3 separate regions of the Homo sapiens genome follow, and all the other regions are linked to region 3. Evidence: promoter capture Hi-C in human tissues and cell types (Jung and others, 2019). All regions are on one chromosome and are shown on one strand. The core of a region is centred on a gene start or on the middle of the fragment in contact, and the rest is flanking DNA. Distances in the headings are between cores, read along the strand shown. Region 1 holds the start of SIPA1 (signal-induced proliferation-associated 1). Region 2 holds the start of MALAT1 (metastasis associated lung adenocarcinoma transcript 1). Region 3 holds the start of ATG2A (autophagy related 2A).

Region 1 (3,753 bases), core at 1,254-3,753, 720 kb before region 3:
GGTCCTGGAGCCTGGGCAGCCCTGGGACTGCCAGGGTCCCCCAGTCGCCACCCACACACCTTAGCTTTGGCCTGGGCCCAGAGTAAGGGTCCCACCAGGACCTAGCCCAACCGGACAGATGACTTGTATTGGCTGGGACGGGAAACCCAGGGGCCACTGGTGTCTGGGTCCTGCCCACTTAACAAAGGGAGGACGTCCTGTCCCCAGAGACCTTCCTCCTTGCCCCTCCCACTTCCTTCAGGGTCCCTGGAGAGCTGATCACCCAGAGAGGTCTGATCTCAGTGCCCTGGACCTCAAGGCCTCAATACCACAAGGACACATGGGTTCCCAGGGAGGCAGCGGCAGGGCAGCAGGAATGGCAAGAGGACTTCCTTCAGCACAGGAAGTAGCCCCAACTGTGGGCCCAGCCCTCTGCCAGGCCCCCACATCCTGAGGAAGGTGCTGGGGTCACAGCAGCTGTCATGGGACCCCAGTCACCCTGCCCTGAAGGACAGGCCAACTCACCTTCTTGCAGGCTACTGTGCCCAGGCTTGGGGGCAAGAGGAGTCACAATGACAGGGACCCATAGGGACCTCTGCCTACCTGGTCTCACTGATGCAGACAGGGAGGTCTGAACCCCATGTGACAGATGGTCAGATGAGGTCCAGAGGAGATGCTCTTGCCTGAAGCAATTCCGTGTCAGAGCTAGGATGTGAGCCTGGGTCTGCCCATCTCCAGGCCCTAAGCAGGGCTGCACCTGCCCACTGCTGTCTGTGTGCGTAGGTTTTGGGGGGTGGGTGTTGGGCTGAGGTTCAAGGTCTCACAGGATGCAAGATTGAGACACCCAAAGCCCCAGGGACCTGCTAAGTGCGGAAACGTGACGCCAGAGGCAGGTGCAAATGGTGGTGTGAGAACTTGAGGGAAGCCACACCCAGGCAAGCCCTGGATGGAGTAGGCAGTGAGGACAGGGAGCTGGGGAACCTCCACTGGGGGTACAGGCATCTAATGGTGGGTCTTCATGCAGCATCCAGCAACATCATGCGGGGCTGGGCCGGAGGGGGGTGGAGGAGGGGCTCCACACACCCTTCGTCTGGGGCCTCCAGAACCAAGCAAGAGTCGGCTCCCCAGCCCAGGTGCTTCTACCTTGATTTCTCCTGAATAAACTCCCATGCTGACCTTGAGCCTCTGTTTTCTCATCTCTAAAATGGGGTTAACTGGCCGGGTGCGGTGGCTGTGGCCTGTAATCCCAGCACTTTGGGAGGCCAAGGCGGGGGGATCACCTGAGGTCAGGAGTTCAAGACCAGCCTAGCTAACATGGTGAAACCCTGTCTCTACTAAAAACATAAAAATTAGCCGGGTGTGGTGGTGCGCACCTGTAGTCCCAGCCACTCAGGAGGCTGAGGCAGGAGAATCGCTTAAACCTGGGAGGCAGAGGTTGCAGTGAGCCGAGATCGCGCCACTGAACTCCAGCCTGCGGGACAGAGTGAGACTGTCTCCAAAAAAACAAAGAAAAAAATTGGGTTTAATTATTTCTGTCCCCTCCCAAGGCTGCTGAGAGACTGAGAAGAATGAGGTGAGTGTCGCTAGCTATGTGTGTGTGTGACGGGTGTAGCCCCTGGCTCCATGAGCCAAGCTCTGGGCACATTCAGCGCTCGGGCCTGGGCTATAGTGTGTGAAGGAGTAGGAGGGCATGAGGGAGGGGGTCTGTGCAAGCCCCGCTCCTTGTGGGCTGAGCTCTGCACGCTTGGAAGTGAGATCTGTGCATGTGTGCACCCAGCCTGTGCGCTGCCTCTTGCTGTGGCCCAGTGCCAGGCTCTGGCGCTGCCTTGAGGGGTGTTCTCGGGCTCTGCCCCCCACCCTGAAGCTTCACACAGGGTCCATTGAGGCTAGGACATTCCTCCGGGCCTGTGTCACTAGGGGTGGGGGGAAAGGGCCGGCCCCGCCCCCACAGATCCGGAAGGCCTGGCTGCCCCAGGAGGAGGAGCTGGCCACTTCCCAGCACATCTGGAGGTCATGACCCCATTTCGGCTGCCAGGGGGCGCGACAGATGTTTCCTCCCAGGCCAGGCCAGGGACTGGGGTGGAGGCCGCCTAAGAAGAAGAGGAGCCTCAGAATAAGGGGGAGCCCCGCACACACTTGCAGTGTTGAGGGGGAGGGGGTCACAGTGCCGCCACCAGGAGTCAGGAGCCGCCGCTTCCACTCACCGGCTGGCTGGCCAGGCTAAGCCGTCACACAGAGAGAGTAGGAACGGCTGGTCAGAGACAGGGGGCTGGACATATTGACTCGGGACTGAGCTGGAGCCCGGAGGGAAGTTGGGAGGGTGCTGGCGGCGAACGTGGCGAGGACCCCACTCCCATACACATCACCCGGGCCCACGGCTAGGCCACCTCTCCCCTGTCGGGCCCGACAGTAGTGCCTCCCGTCCCCTGCTCCCGCCAGTACCTCTGGGGCTCCCGCCCAGCCGCCGCCGCCCGCGCTGGGGTCCCGCTGCCGCTCTCCCGCTACCGCTCCCGGCGCCGGCTCCGCCTGGGGGCGGGGCCATGCTGGGAGGCGGGGCCATGCCGGGAGGCGGGGCCGGCCGGGAGCTGTCTGCGGCGGGAAGCGCAGCAGCGGGGATTCCAGGCCTGGCGGAGGTCAGCACCGAGCAGTGCTCATTCTAAGGCCATTTCCTCTCCTGAGAAACTTGTGCCTGCCTTCCAGACCAACCGGGAGGGCTAGCGGAGGCCACCTAGCGTCCAGCTCCCGGCCAGCAGGTGCTCAAGAGTCTGCCACTATTTTATGGAGCACTTGCTAAGCACTGGGCCCTGGGCAACCATTCCACTAGCGCGCTCTCATTTATTCTAAAAACACCTTAGATAGGTGTCATCTCTTTACGCCCTGGAGCAGCTGAGGTGCAGAGAAAGGCTTTGGCCAAGAACAAGCCTGATAAATGTAGGAGCCACCAGACCTGGAAGTCTGACCATATGGTGGGAAATGGCAGACAATACCCTTCAGATAAAGGCTTGAAAAGGGAGCAGCCATGCGGTGAAGAGGACCCGGTTCTACCTGAACCCCACCTTGGTCTGCCCTTGATCTCTACTAGACTTCAGCCCCACATCCTTCACCCCTCTGCGTGCTTGTCCATCCCAACTTAGCCGCCTGTACTATCATGTACCCATTCCCAGGTAGAAAAAGAAACTGCCAACCAAAATCAAAAATAGTGTTATTAATTCTGATGTCTCCGAAGCACAAAAAAAAAAAAAAAAAAGAAAAGAAAAAAAAGGAAAGAAAGAAACCACCCTTCCCACAATTCAGGCCCCAGGTCCAGGCCAAGGGGGCCACACCTGCAGGCAGTGCAGGCCCAGGGGCTGAGGTGGTCCTGGCCACAGGCTCCAAGTGGGACCAGCCCATGGTTTGGCTCTTAGGGCCTGGCTGGGAGGCTGACTGCCTCCATCTGGGGAGCCCAGGCCCTGGACTGGGGATGAGAGAGATCAGGGGTCAAGGTCAGAGGTCTGGGTCACTCAGTTTTGGTACTCTGGCCAAGGCAGCCAAAGGTCAGGGTTCAGACATGTAGGCCAAAGCCACTCAGTTCTGTGGTCCAGCAGAGAGGCAGCAGAGCAGGTCCGTTACTGAATCCTAGGAGGTGGTCCAGTGGGCGCCAGGTAGCTCAGTACTGGTGTTCCAGCAGGGGCTGGGCTGCCGGGCTCTCACGCTCCTCAATAGGGGCAGGCCAGTCGCCCAGGGCACCCATAGGTGTGCCACTCTCAGGGGCACTGCTGTCCAAGCAAGGAATGT
Region 2 (3,568 bases), core at 76-2,575, 580 kb before region 3:
CTATACTTTGAAGGAAAACAGATACAGTATCAAATTATGACACTTTCCTTGCCCAAATTAATGCACTGGTACACCCAGTGGCTCATATTTAACTTCCCCCAGCTTCCCAATTCAAACTGGGGGGAAAAAAACTAAATCATTGGGAGTTACTTGCCAACTTGGAAGTTGATATTTCTTTACTTTTTCCATTCTAAGACTTTAAGTTCTCTGGCATGAGTTTATCTGCAATCATAAACTAAACAATTACCTAAACCCACCCCACCAATCCCAACCGTAACAGGCCACTGCCAACTAATTGCCAATATTTGCCCCTCCCCTTTAATAAAACTTTTAAGAAGTCACATTATTGGAAAACTTAACTTCAACATTTGGCCTACTCAAGCTCTTCTGAAGTTCTCCTGAGATGACTGAATATGAACCAAAGCTGCACTGTGCTGTACTTTTCAGCTTCAACTGGGAATACTCTTCCAAGGATAAAAGCAGCTCCAGTCCCTGAAGGTGTTCGTGCCAACAGCACAGCGGTACACTCCTTCTCTAACCCAGTTTGTCAATAGTACTATAGCATCTGTGGAAAATCTTAGAAAAAAACATTTTCTCCCCCACCCTCTCTCTTCCCTGTTAAGACCATCCCAAAATGCTTCAAGTAAAAAATAACAAGTTTAAGGGGTTAAGCACTTTTAAAGTCTGATTAAGGGGGTGGGGGGAAAAAAGAGTAACTACCAGCCATTTCTCCAATGGACATCTCTTCCACAGACCTCAACGTGAGAACTGCTCTAGTTTCTATAAACTGTAAACCTGTGGTGGTCTGATTATCCTGATATTGGATTTTCTTGTTTTCTGTTACACCTTGAGTCATTTGCCTTTAGGATTCTAGACAGACCTAAGGGAAAAAGAACTGAAAACATATTTTGCCCCCACCCCCACAAAAAAAAATACTGAAAACTCCCCCCCGCCTCAGTTACACATCCAAACTCTACATTTACAAAACGAATTCAGGGTGAGGAAGTAAAAACAGGTCATCTATTCACAAAACTGAAATACTTCATTACCCCAACTAAACATACAAACTGCTTACAGATTTGCTGAAATTGTCTCAATTTGGCTATCAAATTCATTTGGTTTTCCTCAAATTCGTGTAAAAAAAAAAAACCCACAAACTTGCCATCTACTATTTCTCCAGGACTTGGCAGTCTGCCCTCAAAAGCTTCAGACAAGATTCATGAGTATAAGCCTGAAAAAGAGAAACCTACAACACCCGGAAATCGGCCTACGTCCCCATATAAATCCCTTTACACCTCAGTACGAAACTCCCCCATTATATTAGAAAATAAATAAAAGGTTACCATAAGTAAGTTCCAGAAAAACAACATATTGCCGACCTCACGGATTTTTACCAACCACTCGCTTTCCCTGTGGCCTTGGCACACTGGCATGCTGGTCTAGGATCCTCTACGCACAACGCCTGCTCGCCTCCTCCGTGTGGTTGCCAAGCCAAGCCGCCTGCTACCTTCATCACCAAATTGCACTCGCTCCTTCCTGGAATCCTTTTTCCTAGCTTCACCACCAAATCGTTAGCGCTCCTTCCTTCTTCCTAGCTTCCTTCACCAAATCGCACTGGCTCCTGGACTCTTTTCCTATCTTCACCACGAACTGCTGCTTGCTCGCTTGCTCCTCAGTCCTAGCTTCATCAAACACTGGTTCCTGGAATCCTGTCTGCTGCTGTCTTCCTAGATTCACTGAATCCACTTCTGTGTAGCACCTGGGTCAGCTGTCAATTAATGCTAGTCCTCAGGATTTAAAAAATAATCTTAACTCAAAGTCCAATGCAAAAACATTAAGTTGGTAATTACTCTTGATCTTGAATTACTTCCGTTACGAAAGTCCTTCACATTTTTCAAACTAAGCTACTATATTTAAGGCCTTCCAAATTCTTCTAACTCTTCCAAAAGCCTTCTGCCTTAGTTTTTTTTAAATTACACCAGTCCTTTTAGTAGCTTTTTGATGTGATTTTTAACCAACTTCCCCTTCTAGCTTCAAGTATTCTTCTAAATTGGTTCTGGTCTACGTAAACACCCTCATCTTCTCAAGCTTTACCTTCTAACTTCTGCACCACCAGAAATTAAATTGATGGGCTTTTAAAATAAATTGGTTACCAATAATTTCCTCATTTTTTCAGTGCTATTTTATCCAATTTTTGGCTTTATATTTTTCTATCTTCTATACTTCTCCAATACTTGTCTTAGCTTGTTTTTCATTTTCTATCTGAAACTCTTGACAATATTTTCATTTTCTATCTTGTTTCTATCTTCCAATTTTCTTCTAAGTTTGTACATTTTGCCCTTAGCTTTTTGTTTCCTAGCTTGTCTTTTTTCTTCTGCTTCCTACTTTTCAGGTTTAAATTTATCTTTTTTCTTCTAAAAGTATGTTTTTATCTTCTAATTTCCCTATCTTCTCTATTCTTTTCTTCGCCTTCCCGTACTTCTGTCTTCCAGTTTTCCACTTCAAACTTCTATCTTCTCCAAATTGTTTCATCCTACCACTCCCAATTAATCTTTCCATTTTCGTCTGCGTTTAGTAAATGCGTTAACTAGGCTTTAAATGACGCAATTCTCCCTGCGTCATGGATTTCAAGGTCTTTTAATCACCTTCGGTTTAATCTCTTTTTAAAAGATCGCCTTCAAATTATTTTAATCACCTACAACTTTTAAACTAAACTTTAAGCTGTTTAAGTCACCTTCATTTTAATCTAAAAGCATTGCCCTTCTATTGGTATTAATTCGGGGCTCTGTAGTCCTTTCTCTCAATTTTCTTTTAAATACATTTTTTACTCCATGAAGAAGCTTCATCTCAACCTCCGTCATGTTTTAGAAACCTTTTATCTTTTCCTTCCTCATGCTACTCTTCTAAGTCTTCATATTTTCTCTTAAAATCTTAAGCTATTAAAATTACGTTAAAAACTTAACGCTAAGCAATATCTTAGTAACCTATTGACTATATTTTTTAAGTAGTTGTATTAATCTCTATCTTTCAAAGAGAAAAAAACTTATCTGCGGTTTCCTCAAGCTCCGCCTGCCCCCTCAGCAGAAGCCCCTGCGCTGGCTGCCTCAATGCCTACCGCACAGCTCGGGCGAGGCGTATTTATAGACGGAGAACAACTCGCATCACCGGAATTCGATCACCTTCCGCCGCCTTTGTGAGGGAGGCAAAAAGTAGTTCTTCGGTTAAAAATAGGTTCTAGTTTTACTTTTCTAGATTTTTCTTAACAGCTTATGGAACTTGAATGCAAACTACACATGCAGAAATACTTAAATTACTAGCGTGTGGAAAGATTTGAGCTGCAAACTTTAGACAAAAGAAACATGGAAATCATATTTTAAACGGGTCATCAAACACCTCACAAAACCCCCGGAACTTTTAAAATACCTCTTAAAGCACTTCTTGTGTTCTCTTGAGGGACAGTAGGTATAGTTTACCACCTTTTGAAGGAAGATTAAAGTGTGATAGTTCAGGGCTTTACTTTCCATTACGCAACTGAGCCCCAGCCTTGCAGGGACGGTTGAGAAGTGGC
Region 3 (3,359 bases), core at 824-3,323:
AAGCTCCGCCTCCCAGGTTCACACCATTCTCCTGCCTCAGCCTCCCGAGTAGCTGGGACTACAGGCGCCCGCCATCACACTCTGCTAATTTTTTAAATATTTTTTAGTAGAGATGGGGTTTCACTGTGTTAGCCAGGGTGGTCTCGATTTCCTGACCTCATGATCCACCCGCCTTGGCCTCCCAAAGTGCTGGGATTACAGGCATGAGCCACCGTGCCTGGCCCATAAGCACTTTCTGAATGGCTGTCCTATCAGCCTGCCTCCCTGAATGGAGCCTGCTCCTTCCAGGTAATGAACTATCTCCACTTACTAACCCAACCCCAGTTACATAGGATAAAACTGAGGGTCACAAGAGGAGAAGAAACCACCCATGGGTGGGACTGGAATACAGGTCCCTGCCCGGTGGGCCAGGGCGGTTGCCCTTGCTTCAGGCTGAGTTTTGGCATTAGAATGTAAGAGTCCAGCTCCCAAGTAAGATTAAAATAGAAACACAGGCTAGGTGGGGTAGCTCACACCTGTAATCCCAGCTACTCAGGAATTCCTTGAACCCAGGAGCCAGAGGTTGCGTGAGAGGAGACTGCACCACTGCACTCCAGCCTGGGCAACAGAGCAAGACTCTGTCTCAAAAAAAATAAATAAAATAGAAACATAGGCCGGGCACGGTGGCTCGTGCCTGTAATCCCAACACTTTGGGAGGCCAAGGCAGGCTGATCACCTAAGGTCAGGAGTTCGAGACCAGCCTGCCCAACACGGTAATTAGCTGGGTGCGGTGGTGCATGCCTGTAATCCCAGCTACTCTGGGAGGCCAAGGCAGCAGAATCATTTGAACCCAGGAGGCAGAGGTTGCAGTGAGCCAAGATTGTGCCACTGCACTCCAGCCTAGGTGACAGAGAGAGTCTGTCTCAAAAAGAAAAGAAAAGAAACATAATTACCTATGGCTGTTCCTGAAGTCGCCCATGATGTAAGAGGTTTTGTGTGGCTGCCCCCTACAGAGCAGCGGTTGGCAAACTTTTTCTGTGAAGGGCCAGAAAATAAATATTTTAGGCTTTGCAGGCCTCTGTCTCAAGTACTGAATTCTGCTCTTGTAGCAAGAAAGCAGCCCGGGGCAGAACTTAAGCAAATGAGCAAGACTGTGTGACACTAAAACGTTATGTATAAACACTGGAATGTGAATTTCATATGATTTTTCACATGCCATGAAAAGTTCATTCTTCTTTTGATTTTTCCCCTAACCATTTAAAAGACATAAAAACCATACTTAGCTCAAAGGCCGTACAAAAACAATGCCCCCCTGCTTAAAGGAGGCAGAATCCATTCTTTGATTTTAGGACTAGAGATATGAAAAGCTATTATTATTTCAGAGAGGTGCCTAAGGCCTGACCGACGGCAGAGAGAAGGGAGGGTCAGTTAATCTCCCTCTGAGCATTCCGGGGTGAGGAGGGGAAAAAAGACCTTCCTTGGTGATGGATTCAGAGCCCTTATTTATTTTTGTTTGTTTTTGAGGCAGGGTCTTTCTCGTATCTTAATCTGTTTTCTTACCTGTAAAGCGGTGGCAATAATCCCTACCTTGAGCGATTATTAAGAGGGCTCAATGAGATAAAGGATGGTAAAAGATTTTGCAAAATGCGAATGTTTACTCACTTAATTGTTTCCACAGATGCGCGCTTAAGATCGCGCACTGAGTTTACTCCTCTGGGGAAGGCTTCTACGAAGTTTGATGGGACACTGTCCCTTTAAATCCTCCCCAACCACTTAAAGTGGTTGGACGAATCAGCACATGCGCATTCCTTTGAGGGGCCGGCACCTGGAGCAACAGCCTTCCCAGAGCCTGTAGAGGGGAGGTTAAAGGTCCTCCCACACAGTACTTTACGCAAGCGTAAATCATGATTGAGAGCCCTATATCATGCAGAGAGCCCAGTCCCTTTTTCGCGCCCGAAGGCTCCGCCCCGCGCAGCCAATCAGTAGGCCTCGCCCTTTGCAATAGCCAATGACAGTGAGCGTAGGGGGCGTGGCTGGGCGTCCGGAGGCGCGGCCTGGCGCCTAGAGAAGCGGCGGGGCGAGCCGGGGGCTCTAGTGAACAGCGGAGCCGGACGGGGATCGCCGGCGGGCGGCAAGCGGAGGCGGCCCAGGCCCGGCGGTCTCCGAGATGTCACGATGGCTGTGGCCATGGTCAAACTGTGTGAAAGAGCGGGTCTGCCGCTACTTGCTGCACCACTACTTAGGTCACTTCTTCCAAGAGCACCTCAGCCTGGACCAGCTCAGCCTCGATCTGTACAAGGGCAGCGTTGCCCTGCGAGACATCCACCTGGAAATCTGGGTGAGGAGCCAGGCCCGAGTCCAGGAAGGTGCGGAGGGTGGGAGCGCAGCGACCTGAGGCTCCCTGCGGCAGGATCGGGCTGGGGGATCAGGCACCGGGCGTAGAGAGGCCAGGGGAATCTTGCCCTCTCCAGGCGTCAGAGGCACCCCGGCTGGCCTCTTCAGTTCCTTACCAGAGCCAGAAACTGAGCGGGAAGGGGTTTCTGTCTCCACGGGAGGAGAAACTGAGGCTGGAGAGGGCAAGATCACCTGTCTGGAGAATGCAAGACAAACTCGTCGAGTTTGGGGGCTGAGTTAAGGAGGTTGGCTCTCGGGCTGAGGAGGGGCTGGGGAGGGAGCGTAGGAACTGAGCTGGGCCAGGGCAGTGACAGACTTGGGCCTGCGCAGCTGGTGGGGGAAGCTGGTAGGGGTCCGGAGCCCTGGCGAGGACACCTGTGGATCATGTGCCCTGACCTCTTGACCCCACGGTCCTGAGCCCGTAGGTGGGATCAACAAACCACCGGATGTGTATGTCAACAACCGCGTCAGTACGTCAGTACCAGTGTTGATCAACACCTCGTGTGCCTGGGTCGCTGCCTACTTCCTGCTTTTGGGAGAGTGGGATGGGCCAAGTGGGTGTCTAGGGAGGGACTGGATGGCCCCCACCTACATCTCCCACCGACCCCCCCGGCTCAGTGTCCCTGCCTGGAGGGAGGCCCTGGAGGAAAGGTGGGGAGATCTGGCTTCAAGCCGGGAGGAGGCCAAGGGAGATGCTAGGGAGGCCAAGAGGTGTAAGGTCAGAGGCTTGAGGCTGGGAACGGTGAGGAGCCCTGACTCACAGCTCAGCTGACCTGGGGAGCTTTGAAGGAGCCACCAATTAGAGGCGCGTCCTGGTCGATCCACCAGGTCCAGAGCAGCAGGGGTGGGCATGGAGGCAGGGACTTCTCAGTTTTGTGGCTGGACTCAGGGGGCTGCTAATCTGGGCAGAAGAGCTAGGCTTTGGGGGTAGGCCAGGCCCTGGTGAGCAAATGTGGGGTAGGATAATCGTGGGCCCTGAACTGGGG

Evidence for each region. The method cuts DNA at HindIII sites, captures the fragments that hold promoters and counts their contacts. A contact is called where the count stands out against the background at its distance.
Region 1: the fragment with the promoter of SIPA1 here is called in contact with the fragment with the promoter of ATG2A in region 3 in 1 of the 25 tissues and cell types used here (spleen).
Region 2: a contact is called between a fragment that was not itself captured here and the fragment with the promoter of ATG2A in region 3, in 1 of the 25 tissues and cell types used here (dorsolateral prefrontal cortex).

The regions. Positions count from the first base shown.
Region 1 is chr11:65,636,851-65,640,603 of GRCh38, reverse strand. It overlaps SIPA1 (signal-induced proliferation-associated 1), which reads right to left and starts at 2,503. Exons shown (of 16, transcript NM_006747.4): 1 at 2,422-2,503. It overlaps PCNX3 (pecanex 3), which reads right to left. Exons shown (of 35, transcript NM_032223.4): 35 at 3,165-3,753. The coding sequence ends at 3,626. RefSeq lists enhancers at 1,871-1,940, 2,892-3,682 and a silencer at 2,291-2,660. The HindIII fragment of the contact is 7,218 bases long and covers 1-3,753 here.
Region 2 is chr11:65,498,590-65,502,157 of GRCh38, reverse strand. It overlaps MALAT1 (metastasis associated lung adenocarcinoma transcript 1), which reads right to left and starts at 3,113. Exons shown (of 1, transcript NR_002819.5): 1 at 1-3,113. It also overlaps TALAM1. RefSeq lists enhancers at 1,590-1,719, 3,223-3,302, 3,353-3,422. The HindIII fragment of the contact is 4,315 bases long and covers 1-3,482 here.
Region 3 is chr11:64,915,923-64,919,281 of GRCh38, reverse strand. It overlaps ATG2A (autophagy related 2A), which reads left to right and starts at 2,073. Exons shown (of 41, transcript NM_015104.3): 1 at 2,073-2,317. The coding sequence starts at 2,147. It also overlaps a transcript of PPP2R5B not described here. RefSeq lists an enhancer at 1,672-1,801 and a silencer at 1,852-2,161. The HindIII fragment of the contact is 28,686 bases long and covers 1-3,359 here.